3 separate regions of the Homo sapiens genome follow, and all the other regions are linked to region 3. Evidence: promoter capture Hi-C in 16 types of primary human blood cells and fetal thymus (Javierre and others, 2016). All regions are on one chromosome and are shown on one strand. Each heading gives the region's core, a stretch centred on a gene start or on the middle of the fragment in contact. The rest is flanking DNA. Distances are from core to core; before and after follow the strand shown. Region 1 overlaps VPS33B (VPS33B late endosome and lysosome associated). Region 2 holds the start of HDDC3 (HD domain containing 3). Region 3 holds the start of TICRR (TOPBP1 interacting checkpoint and replication regulator).

Evidence for each region. Contacts are between HindIII fragments. The CHiCAGO score rates a contact against its expected background, and 5 or more counts as called.
Region 1: a contact is called between a fragment that was not itself captured here and the fragment with the promoter of TICRR in region 3, in 1 of 17 cell types (monocytes). The highest score is 6.7, in monocytes.
Region 2: a fragment that was not itself captured here is called in contact with the fragment with the promoter of TICRR in region 3 in 2 of 17 cell types (fetal thymus and naive CD8 T cells); the score reaches 8.3 in fetal thymus.

Annotation. Positions count from the first base shown.
Region 1 is chr15:90,998,315-91,002,143 of GRCh38, forward strand. VPS33B (VPS33B late endosome and lysosome associated) reads right to left here. Exons shown (of 23, transcript NM_018668.5): 18 at 3,736-3,829; 19 at 3,075-3,148; 20 at 2,176-2,277; 21 at 1,586-1,661; 22 at 1,363-1,479; 23 at 359-740. The coding sequence ends at 661. Among named protein-coding and RNA genes, the nearest start is that of PRC1, 5.7 kb to the left of the region's middle. The HindIII fragment of the contact is 6,968 bases long and covers 1-3,829 here.
Region 2 is chr15:90,928,996-90,932,620 of GRCh38, forward strand. HDDC3 (HD domain containing 3) reads right to left here and starts at 3,554. Exons shown (of 4, transcript NM_001286451.2): 1 at 3,434-3,554; 2 at 3,060-3,115; 3 at 2,709-2,949; 4 at 973-2,410. The coding sequence starts at 3,545. The coding sequence ends at 2,280. It also overlaps a transcript of UNC45A not described here. RefSeq lists enhancers at 862-1,091, 2,722-2,951. The HindIII fragment of the contact is 1,870 bases long and covers 613-2,482 here.
Region 3 is chr15:89,574,194-89,577,700 of GRCh38, forward strand. TICRR (TOPBP1 interacting checkpoint and replication regulator) reads left to right here and starts at 1,276. Exons shown (of 22, transcript NM_152259.4): 1 at 1,276-2,047. The coding sequence starts at 1,394. RefSeq lists a silencer at 1,264-1,553 and an enhancer at 1,675-2,203. The HindIII fragment of the contact is 7,754 bases long and covers 1,084-3,507 here.

The DNA of each region.
Region 1 (3,829 bases), core at 235-2,734, 1.4 Mb after region 3:
TGCTGATGCCTGAAATGGCTCTAATGGCACACAATCTTTCATTCTGCAATAAGAAACAAACGCTTAAAATTGAAGTGCCTCCTTAAATTAAAACAACAAAGTCATTTTCTCAAAAATGTAATGAATCACAACATTTTAGAACTGGAAACGTGCTTGCTGGTCACCTCAGCCATCTCCCTCATTTTATGGTAGAGGAAACTCAGGTACAGAGTGGTAGAGTGATTTTTACAGGGAAGAACCAGACCAGGCCTGGAGCCACTACAAAGTCCAGGCCAAGAAGCACAGGAAGCCCCTGTAGCAAGCTCCAATGGGCTTTCACTAATAAAGATGGAAGTGCGTGTCCAGAACGACCAACGTATTACATCTGAGAGCAGAGGCTTTATTTACAATGACATTCAAACAGGATTTAGCAAAGGATGCCTCTTCCTGCTCGCATCTTAGCAGCATGGGTTGTACTTCATAAACAGAAAAGAGAAATATCCTGGGAGCAGGAAGTGAACTCTTTTCTCAGATAATGTTCTCTAAATCCCAACACGTTCCATGCTCCCGGCTCTTAGCAGGTAGTTGGTGGACACTTGGTTATAGCAGCTGGGTGCCAGATGCCTGCATCTCACTGAGGAATGTGTTCAGGGAAGATGTCAACACTGGCCGGGAAAAACATCAGGCTTTCACCTCACTCATGGCCTCCATAAGGCGAGCGCTGTTTGTGACTGCTGTCGTCAGGAAAATGAACCTGTAGCCTAAGGAGTCAAATGCAGCAGCAGAAGAGACAGCACAGATCTTAGGCCCCAACGGCAACCCATAGAGCCTCTCCAGTTCCACAGTCCCCACGGGATCACAGCACCAGTTTATAGACAGAGACGTGAGTGCCATGCTCTTGGGCACCACTGCTTTCTATGACTGGTATAACTGGGCTCCCTGCTGTGGCAGCCCAGAGTTAAGGCTATGGCAAGTTGTATTCTGAGGCCAGGAGAAAAATATTCCTGTGCAGGACACTTTGCGTGTTTTTTTTTTTTCTCTTGAGATGGAGTTTTGCTATTGTTGCCCAGGCTGGAGTGCAATGGTGCAATCTCAGCTCACTGCAACCTCCACCTCCCGGGTTCAAGCAATTCTCCTGCCTCAGCCTCCCGAGTAGTTAGCATTACAGGCACCGGCCACCATGCCTGGCTAATTTTTGTATTTTTCGTAGAGATGGGGTTTCACCATGTTGGTCAGGCTAGGCTCTAACTCCTGACCTCAGGTGATCTGCCCGCCTCCGCCTCCCAAAGTGCTGAGATTACAGGTATGAACCACCGTGCCCAGCTGACACTTTGTTACCCAGATACAATGCAGGCCAATTCTCACCTTTCTGCTCTCTCTTACCTTTCTCTCTGCCCAGGAACCGGAGGGCTGAGATCTCAGAGAATGTACAACCACCCAAGAACACCACCAAGATGAGGCGCAGGGACTCACTGGAAGCCTTGTCTTCCTTAGTCATATCTGTGAGGATCAGACCAGATTCAGCCCTTCCCTGACATGCTAGTCCTGAGTGGTGCATCCAGCCCACCTCTCACTGCCAGCCTACCCCACTGTTAATGCCACATACCTGTGAATGCAAAGTCACTGCAGTTGAGCAGCCGTACCACCTCATCAAGGCCCTGCCAGCTTCGCCGCTCTAGCACCTGGGAAGGTGTAAGCACTGTTTTTAAGGCTACAGACAGTATCAGGCTTAGGAAAGGAAGGGCACAGCAGCCAGACTGTCACATTTCTTGCTCATTACTCAAGTAGCAAAAAGTTGAGACAGGGCCAGGTGTGGTGGCTCACGCCTGTAATTCCAACACTTTAGGAGTTTGAGGCGGGGGGATCACCTGAGGTCAGGAGTTCGAGACCAGCCTGGTCAACATATAGTTGGCCCTGTCTATATGAAACCCCATCTCTACTAAAAATACAAAAATTAGCTGGGTGCAGTGGCACATGCCTGTAGTCCCAGCTACTTCGGAAGCTGAGGCAGGAGAATCACTTGAATCTGGGAGGTGGAGGTTGCAGTGAGCCAAGATCGTGCCACCGCACTCCAGCCTGGGTGACAGAGCAAGACTCCATCTCAAATAAAAAAAAAAAAACATTGAGACACGCCAGGGACCAAGAGAAAGCAGAGAGAATGAAATATGAATGGGAGCAAGAATTACATGCTCTCACCTGCTCAATGATTCGGCAGCTCAGGGGCACATAAGCACCACCGAAGACGTAAGCCATGTCTCGGGGCACTTTCAGATCATACTCGCCGTCCACACGTGGGATCTGTAAGACAAAGGGACTTCATTAGGCAAGTGACAGCTCAGCTCCCTAACCCTTTAAAGGGTCAGATAAAGTGGCATGGCCCAAGGAACAATTCTTATTTCAACTAAAGGGAGAACCAGCAATAGCCCTGAAAAGAGAATCCATAACGGAAGATGGCAGTTTTTGTTCAGTAACTGCCAGTTCTCTGGAATGAGTTCCCATGCGCCATTATTGAATAATGTAAAGGGGCTGGAGGGATGGCTTCTCCTTTCCCTACCCTTAAGTGACACAGGATATGGTTGTCACTGAAGCAGCACTTAGAATATTCTCTGGCATTGGCAGGTGCTTGTTACATGTTGATTAAATGAATGAATCTACCATGCTATAAGACTACCAAACAAAAGAATCTTTATACACATGAAATGACAAAAAGGTTTTTGTGGATTCAAAGTACTCCACAATGGGCTGGGCGCAGTGGCTCATGCCTGTAATCCCAGCACTTTGGGAGGCCGAGGTGGGCGGATCACCTGAGGTCAGAAGTTCAAGACCAGCCTGGCCAACATGGGGAAACCTTGTCTCTACTAAAAATACAAAAATTAGCTGGGCGTGGTGGCACATGCCTGTAATCCCTTGGGAGGCTGAGGCAGGAGAATCACTTGAACCTGGGAGGCAGAGGTTGCAGTGAGCTGAGATTGTGCCACTGCACTCCAGCCTGGGCAACAGAGCAAGATTCCATCTCAAAAAAAAAAAAAAAAAAGAAAAGTACTCCACAATGGAATGAACCCACTGTCTCCCCTAACCATCCCTGTTCCACATACCAAATTCAGCTTTTTGCTGATGGCACGAAAATTGCTCCTCTTGGCCAGAGAACTGAAGGCATCAGTAATCTTTCCTGGGGAAGAAATCTGTGTCAGGTTTCACCTAAGGTCTATGGATTCATGACACTGCCACAGATAACACCATTCAGGACACGACAGCACCAATCACATCCAAAAACTCTCGGAAGCTGTTCAACTATAATTCCCTGGAACTAATCAAGATATACTCCCCACCCTTCTCCCCACCCACAGTCTTCCCCCTCCTACGGGGTACCAGCTCTCTACTAAATGCAATCCACAGGGTAACCCGAGTTTATTGGTATGTGCTTTGGGAGTTAAACCGACCTAACTTACTAACTAAGGGACCTTGGACAAATCACTTAATTCTCTAAGCCTCAGTTTCATCATAAAATGAGGATGAGAAAATTTATCTCACAGTCTTTGTGAGATTAAATGAGAAACTAAAGGGCTCAGCACATGGTAAGTGTTTACTATGTGGAAACTGCTCTTACTAGCAGAAGTAGTAGTAATAATAGTAATGACATTAATAGGAAGGAATCAGTCCACCTTCTCCAATTCATTCTGTCCCTCCCAGCATGCTGCGTGTTGAGAGAAGTCAGGACAACAGCTGGAGCAGGGGTCACTTGTGCTCCCTGCTTACCTGCAGCCTTGTCGGTCACCAGCTTGCTCACTTTACTCTCCACGGCTGTGAGGGTGTCCCCGGGGGCCTGCTCCGTTAGGAGCCCAGCTCTTCG
Region 2 (3,625 bases), core at 298-2,797, 1.4 Mb after region 3:
GACCTTGCATCAAATGGTGCTAGGAAAACTGGACATCCACAAGCAAAACCATACATCATATATTTTGTATATGGTGTATATACAAAAAAATTACACCATATACAAAAATTAACCCAAAATGTTCTTGCCACAAAAACAACAAAAAATTGGGTAACTACGTGAAATGATGGATGTGTTAATTTGCTTCACTATAGTAACCTTTTTACTACCTGTATGTAGCCTCATAACATCATGTATACCTTATACCAAATTAAATTGATTTAAAAAGAAATTTAACCCAAAATGGATCAAAAACTTTACTTGTAAGAGCTAAAACGATAACTTTGGGAGGCCAAGGCGGGTGGATCACCTGAAGTCAGGAGTTAAAGACCAGCCTGGGCAGCAAGGATAAATCCCGTCACTACTAAAAATACAACAATTAGCCATGCGTGGTGGCGCACGCCTGTTATCCCAGCTACTCGGGAGACTGAGGCAGGAGAATAGCTTGAACCCGGGAAGCGGAGGTTATGGTGAGCAGAGATGGCACCATTGCACTCCAGCCTGGGCAACAAGAGTGAAACTCCGTCTCAAAAAAAAAAGCTAAAACGAAAGCTCCTAGAAGAAAACAGGAAAAGCTTCATGGCATTAGATTTGGCAACGATTTCTTAGATATGACACTAAAAACACAGGCAACAAAATATATAAAGTGGACTACAACAAAGTCATCTTTTCTTAAAAAAATCTCGTTATCTTACTCCCGCAAAACTATTTAAAAAAATTAAGTTCAAAGTTCTCCAAAATGTACCATACCCTGGGGATTACTCTGAACTTTGTTCATTTGTTTTCTTTTAATTCGGCTTTTTTGGTTGCCTTTCACCTACTTTTTCGCAGAGCCCTCCGCTGGGGCCTTCACTTGGGCAAACAACTATCGTAGTCGAACAGCTTTGACCTAACAATTTCCTCGTACCCAAGATGATCGCTTTTCCAGACAACTTAATAAACTTTGGCTTTAATGGATGACTGGATGCAGAATAAAATACATAAAAATAAACCTCAGCTGCTCAGCAACGACTGAAAAACCACCACCGGGCAATCCCTCCCCATGGCCACCGAGCAAAGTTCCACCGCCTCCCCTACGCCGACCGCCGGGCTCCCGGGGTCGGACAGCCCCGGGCCACTTCCGGGCCTTCCCGGAAGTCCCTGTCACTTAACAACCGAAGTAACCCGCAATGCGGAAGGGCGAGGGGATTGCGAGTCACCGAGTTTCCCGCGCGGCTTGAGGTACTGGGGAACCGGAATCCCCCACCGGCCCAATCATGTTGCTGCTGGGGTCTCTCCGGTGCCCAGCAGTGGTTGTCAGTAAGCGGGCGGCACTCCCTTCCGATACGTCTTTTCTTTTTTCATTTTTGAGACGGAGTCTCGCTGTGTCACCCAAGCTGGAGTGCAGTGGCGCGATCTCGGCTCAGTACAAACTCCGCCTCCCGGGTTCAAGCGAGTCTCCTGCCTCAGCCTCCTGAGTAGCTGGGATTACAGGCGCGAGCCACTGCGCCCGGCTAATTTTTTTTTGTATTTTTAGTAGAGACGGGGCCTCGCCATGCTGGCCAGGCTGGTCTTGAACTCCTGACCTCAAGTGATCCGCCCGCCTCGGTCTCCCAGAGTGCTGGGATTACAGGCGAGAGACACCGCGCCTGGCCCCCTTCCAACTTTCTTAACGGGAAAGGCTGCTACCATTTCTTGAGCACCTATGTGTCAGGCTCCATCAGGCACGTCACAGTCTAACCTGATAATTACACAACCCATGTCACTGACAAGGAAGCCAGGTTCGGAGGGGTTGAGGCCCGCAACCTGAGGGAGGTGACTCCGGGACACACAATTAGTCCTGCTTTGCTGAAGGAAAGATATGCAGCCCACCAGTCGGAGGCTGGAGAAGGAGCAGCAGCAGCTTAAACCTTAACCCAGAGTTATTTTTATTTTCCAGAACGTGTTAGGAACTAGTACTTAAATAATCTCAAGTCCCTGAGGGGCCAGAGATCCCACCATGCAAAATAGCAAACAGACCCAAGACTTGGGGAGAGGCGGTGAGTGCATCAGAAATGGATGGGTACATCTGATTCCCACCACGCGGGGCTCAGCTTAGTTAGCAGGAGACCTTCAGACTGAGAAAAAATGCAAGTCTTTTTTTGGCCTCTAATATCTGGGAAGGATGGAGGGAGCTCAGGAGACACAGAAAAGATGGCGTATGAATCCTGTCCGGCCTGAACGAGGCTGGAGTTGTGCCTCTGGATAGCTTCAAGCACTGATCAGATTGTCAGCCCCCGCTGCTTGAACAGATGCTTTAGAGCCTCTTCCAGTTGCCGGTTTGTTCCCTGAAGCCCCTTCACCACCTGCGCTGCCCACTCGAAGTATTCCTGGACTCGATGTTCTGACCATCCTGCATAAGAGTCGACAGAAACTTGCTAGCGTGATGTCAAGGAAAGCACTGCCTTTTCCCCACTTCCTGGCAAGCTTGGTTCAAGGCCATGAGTTCCTGATGGAATGAGCTGTCCTGAAAACTTCCCCTTGGCCCAGCTATTGTATTTTTACTGTATGAAAGAAGATCAAAGAGTGGTCCAGTAGGATTAATTTGGGAATTAAGAATGCCCAGGGTTTTTCAGGGGAACTGACCAACATGTGTCTTCAGAAGGCGGCATCCCCCTCCCTTTTCCCTTACAGCCCATACGAAAGCGTACCCTCTGGGGTGCAGCGATTCAGGTCCCTCAGATTGTACAGCTTGTCTGCCAGCTTCACCAGTTTGGCCCCGGGGCTACTGTGGGGCGCTTGCTCCACCTGCAGCCTCTTTCTCTCCAGCTTGGGCAGAGTCTTGTCATCTGTTACCTCCTCCACCAGGCGCCGCACTTGTGCCCCAAAGTGTAGCTCCACCTCATCCAGGGTGGTGTCTGTGTCCTCCACCGTGTCATGGAGCAGGGCCGCCTGGGGACAAGTTCCCACTCAGCCCTGAGATGTCAGCCAAGGGTTGCCCATTGCTGAATGGGGCCCCTAATCCCCATCCCAGGCTCCTGGCAGAGAAGGGGGAAAGTTACCTGTAACACCACAATGTCAGTGATTCCCGCCTCGTGGGTCAGGATCCGTGCCACACCTGACGGGGAGGGGCAAAGCAGGAAGTCAGGTCGGAGGTAGTCCCAAGGCGGTGTGTTGTGGGTTTTGGAGAGCCAGATGTGGCCCCTTGTGGACTCTGACTAGCTGGGTGACCTTGGTCAAGTACCTTACCCTCTGGGAGCCAACCGACAAAGGGAACGATCATGCCTACCGTTCCAATTGTTATGAGGCTTAAACGGTATATCGCACTAAGCTTGGGACAAAACAGGTGCTCAATGAGGTGCACGCCCCCCACGTTTCCTTCCCAGTCCCCACCACCCAGGTGCCGCAGCCGGCGCTCCGCGGCCGACGCGCCCACCGATGGGGTGGTTGATGTAGGGGGTCCCCTCGGGGTCCTTCCGCCGCTGCTGCCGGTGCTTGCGAGCCGCGAAGTCGGCAGCCTCCAGCAGCTGCGCCGCCTCAGAGCCCATCGCGCGGATGGGGCCGACGACTGCGGCCGCAGGGGCAGGGACGGAACGTTTACAGCGCCCCCTGGCGCCGGGGAGGCCCG
Region 3 (3,507 bases), core at 26-2,525:
TTTTTAGTAGAGACAGGGTTTCACTGTGTTAGCCAGGATGGTCTCGATCTCCTGACCTGGTGATTCGCCCGCCTCGGCCTCCCAAAGTGCTGGGATTACAGGCGTGAGCCACCGTGCCCGGCCTATCTATATATAATTCTATGTATTCTATCTATATAGCGATATATAATTTCTATCTGTAATGCAAATCTACATGTGATTTCTATCTATATATACATGTAGATAGAAAATTTAGGGAATTCACTGCAGGTGCTGCTTGCAGTCCACTTTTAAAACCTAACATTACATAATAAAACACTATTTTAAGAAGCTGCACTAGGCCGGGCTTGGTGGCTCACGCCTGTAATCCCAGCACTTTGGGAGGCCAAGTCGGGTGGATCACAAGGTCAGGAGTTTGAGACCAGCCTGGCCAACATGGTGAAACTCCGTCTTTACTAAAAATACAAAAATTAGTCTGGGGTGGTGGCGTGCGCCTGTAGTCCTATTCAGGAGGCTGAGGCAGGAGGATCGCTTGAACCCGGGAGGTGGAGGTTGCAGTGAGCCAAGATCGTGTCAATGCACTCCAGCCTAGGAGACAGAGCGAGACTCCGTTTCAAAAAAAAAAAAAAAAAAAAAAAAAAAAAAAAAGGAGCTGCACGATGCTCCCCTTGGGCGTGTACCATACCTTATTTAACCATTCCCAAACTGTTTCCATTTTTTCTGATGTTAAATAAACTCTAAGATGTACAGACGTCTTTTATCTGGCTCTCCGATTACCTTCTGCAGATAAACTCCTAGAAGTTACTGGGGCAAAGGGAGTGAACCTTTAATTTTTAATAAAATTTTTTAAATTACAGAAAAAGCCGTAGTCGTCAGATTCTACTTCCTAGGCGGTCCACAGGGATTTCAACAAGTTCGATTCAAACCATCCCAAATTCCCTCCCGGCACTAAGTTTTCCTCGGTCTTGGGAAACGTGGCCCCGCAGTCCGCACTCACGACTGCGCACAAACGCTGGCCTCTTTCCAATGGCGAAACTTCTCGACACGCCCCCGAGGCACCACCTCTTTAAAATTTAAAACGAAGGCCCAGGCCAATGAATGCTAAGCTTCTCTCGGACCACAGAGACCCGCCCACCGTCACTCCCTCCACCAATCAGACTGAAGTTTTCTCCACTGCCCCTCCAATCACCGCCAAAAATGGAAGTTGCTCTCGTAACTTACGTAAGGCAAGCAGCCAATAGGAGCAAACCTTGGAAACTAGCTCCCCCAATAGCAGCAGTTCCTGGAGAGCGCGGGAGCCTTTCGACCAGGGTCCCAAAGGAAAGCAGTGAGTGGTGCTGTTTCCCTGAAGGAAGGGACTAAGGGACGGTGGCGCGGGCCCGGACCGGGGCCCCGGGGCGGCGGCACGGCCGATATGGCATGCTGTCACAAAGTAATGCTGCTGCTGGACACCGCGGGCGGCGCCGCCCGCCACAGCCGGGTCCGGCGGGCCGCCCTGCGCCTCCTCACCTATCTGAGTTGCCGATTCGGCCTGGCCAGGGTCCACTGGGCCTTCAAGTTCTTTGACTCGCAGGGGGCGCGGAGCCGGCCGTCCCGCGTGTCTGACTTCCGCGAGCTGGGGTCCCGCTCGTGGGAGGACTTTGAGGAGGAGCTGGAGGCCAGGCTCGAGGATCGCGCCCACCTGCCCGGCCCGGCGCCCAGGGCCACCCACACGCACGGCGCCCTGATGGAGACGCTGCTAGACTACCAGTGGGACCGGCCCGAGATCACGTCGCCCACGAAGCCGATCCTGCGGAGCAGCGGGAGGAGACTGCTGGACGTGGAGAGCGAGGCCAAGGAGGCCGAGGCCGCGCTCGGGGGCTTGGTGAACGCCGTCTTCCTCCTGGCCCCCTGTCCGCACTCGCAGAGGGAGCTGCTGCAGTTCGTGTCTGGGTGCGAGGCCCAGGCCCAGCGCCTGCCGCCCACCCCTAAGCAGGTGATGGAGAAGTTGTTGCCCAAGAGAGTCCGGGAAGTCATGGTCGCCCGAAAAATCACCTTCTACTGGGTGGATACCACCGAATGGTCTAAGGTAAGGAAGGTTACTGTCGTCTCAGATGGCGTGCACGGTGCTTTCCTTGCTAACCAGAACTTGGCAGCGTCCTTAGAACAGCCACAGACCCCGAATGAGACTAATATGACTATGCGTCCCTTCGGAAGGAAACAAATAAATAGGAACAGTTTTCACAACAAAATGGGTAGTTCCTCACTACCTACTGTTTAAGACCCCTCACAATTTGGGCCCTACCTGCCTTCCCAGACTTGATTTTCCTACACACTACATCTACTCTAGCATATTGAAGTCCAGTCCAGAAAATCAACAGGTCTGGACTGCTTGTTTTGTGTTATGTGTGTTGTTCAATCTGCCTGGAATGCCAGTTCTCACTCTTCCAGGCCAGTCTTAACTTCACTTACCCTTTAAGGCTTCTTCTCCCAGTGACAACTGCTCAGTCCAGCGTCTGAATTGCCATACACATTTTGTGTGGCACTTAACCATTTCTCCATATGTTTTGATTATGCACATCTCTCACCCTCCATCTAGTCTAAAAATACCTCAGAGGCAAGCAGCAGGTTTTAACACAATACCCAGGGGTGTGTGTGTATGTGTGTGTGTATATATATATATATATATATATATATATATATATATATACACACACACACATATATATACACATTTATTTATATACATATATATATTTATTTATTATTATTTTTTGAGACAGTGTATGTCGCCCAGGCTGGAATGCAGTGGCTCACTGCAACCTCCACCCCTCCGGGTTCAAGCGATTCTCATGCCTCAGCCTCCCAAGTAGCTGAGACTACAGGCCCACGCCACCATGCCTGGCTAATTTTTTTGTATTTTCAGTGGAGACCAGGTTCCATGCTGCCCAGGCTGGTCTCAAACTCTGGCCTCAGGCAATCCGCCTGCCTTGGCCTCCCGAAGTGCCAGGATTATAGGTGTGAGCCACCACGCCCAGCCACCCAGATGTGTATTAAACGTTGTAGGTGTTCAGTCAGTATTGGCTGACTAAATGAGTACATTCTTGCGTACATTCTTGCAAACTTAAAGTCTTAAATGGCTAATTTGGATTTTTGCTGAGGCGGTGAGGCCCCCTGCTCCTGTTAAGTGCTAGGATAAGTATATACTTTTGCCTTCATCCTTCTCATTGCACTTCATTTAGTCAACAAATGTTCATTGAGAAGCCAGTAACATCTGAGTGCCTACCACACTGTTTGAGCTGCTGGGGACATGGTAACCAAAGCAGGGAACAGATTAAACAGATAAGCAAGTGACAATTTCAAATCATGCTCTGGAGAAAATAAAATGGGGTGAGAGGATGGGAGTAGAAGGTGGTTATTGTATACAGAGTGGTAGTGAGGGAAGGCCTTTTTTTTTTTTTTTTTTTTTTTTTTTGAGACAGAGTCTCGCTTTGTCACCCAGGCTGGAGTGCAGTGGCGTGATCTCGGCTCACTGCAACCTTCACCTCC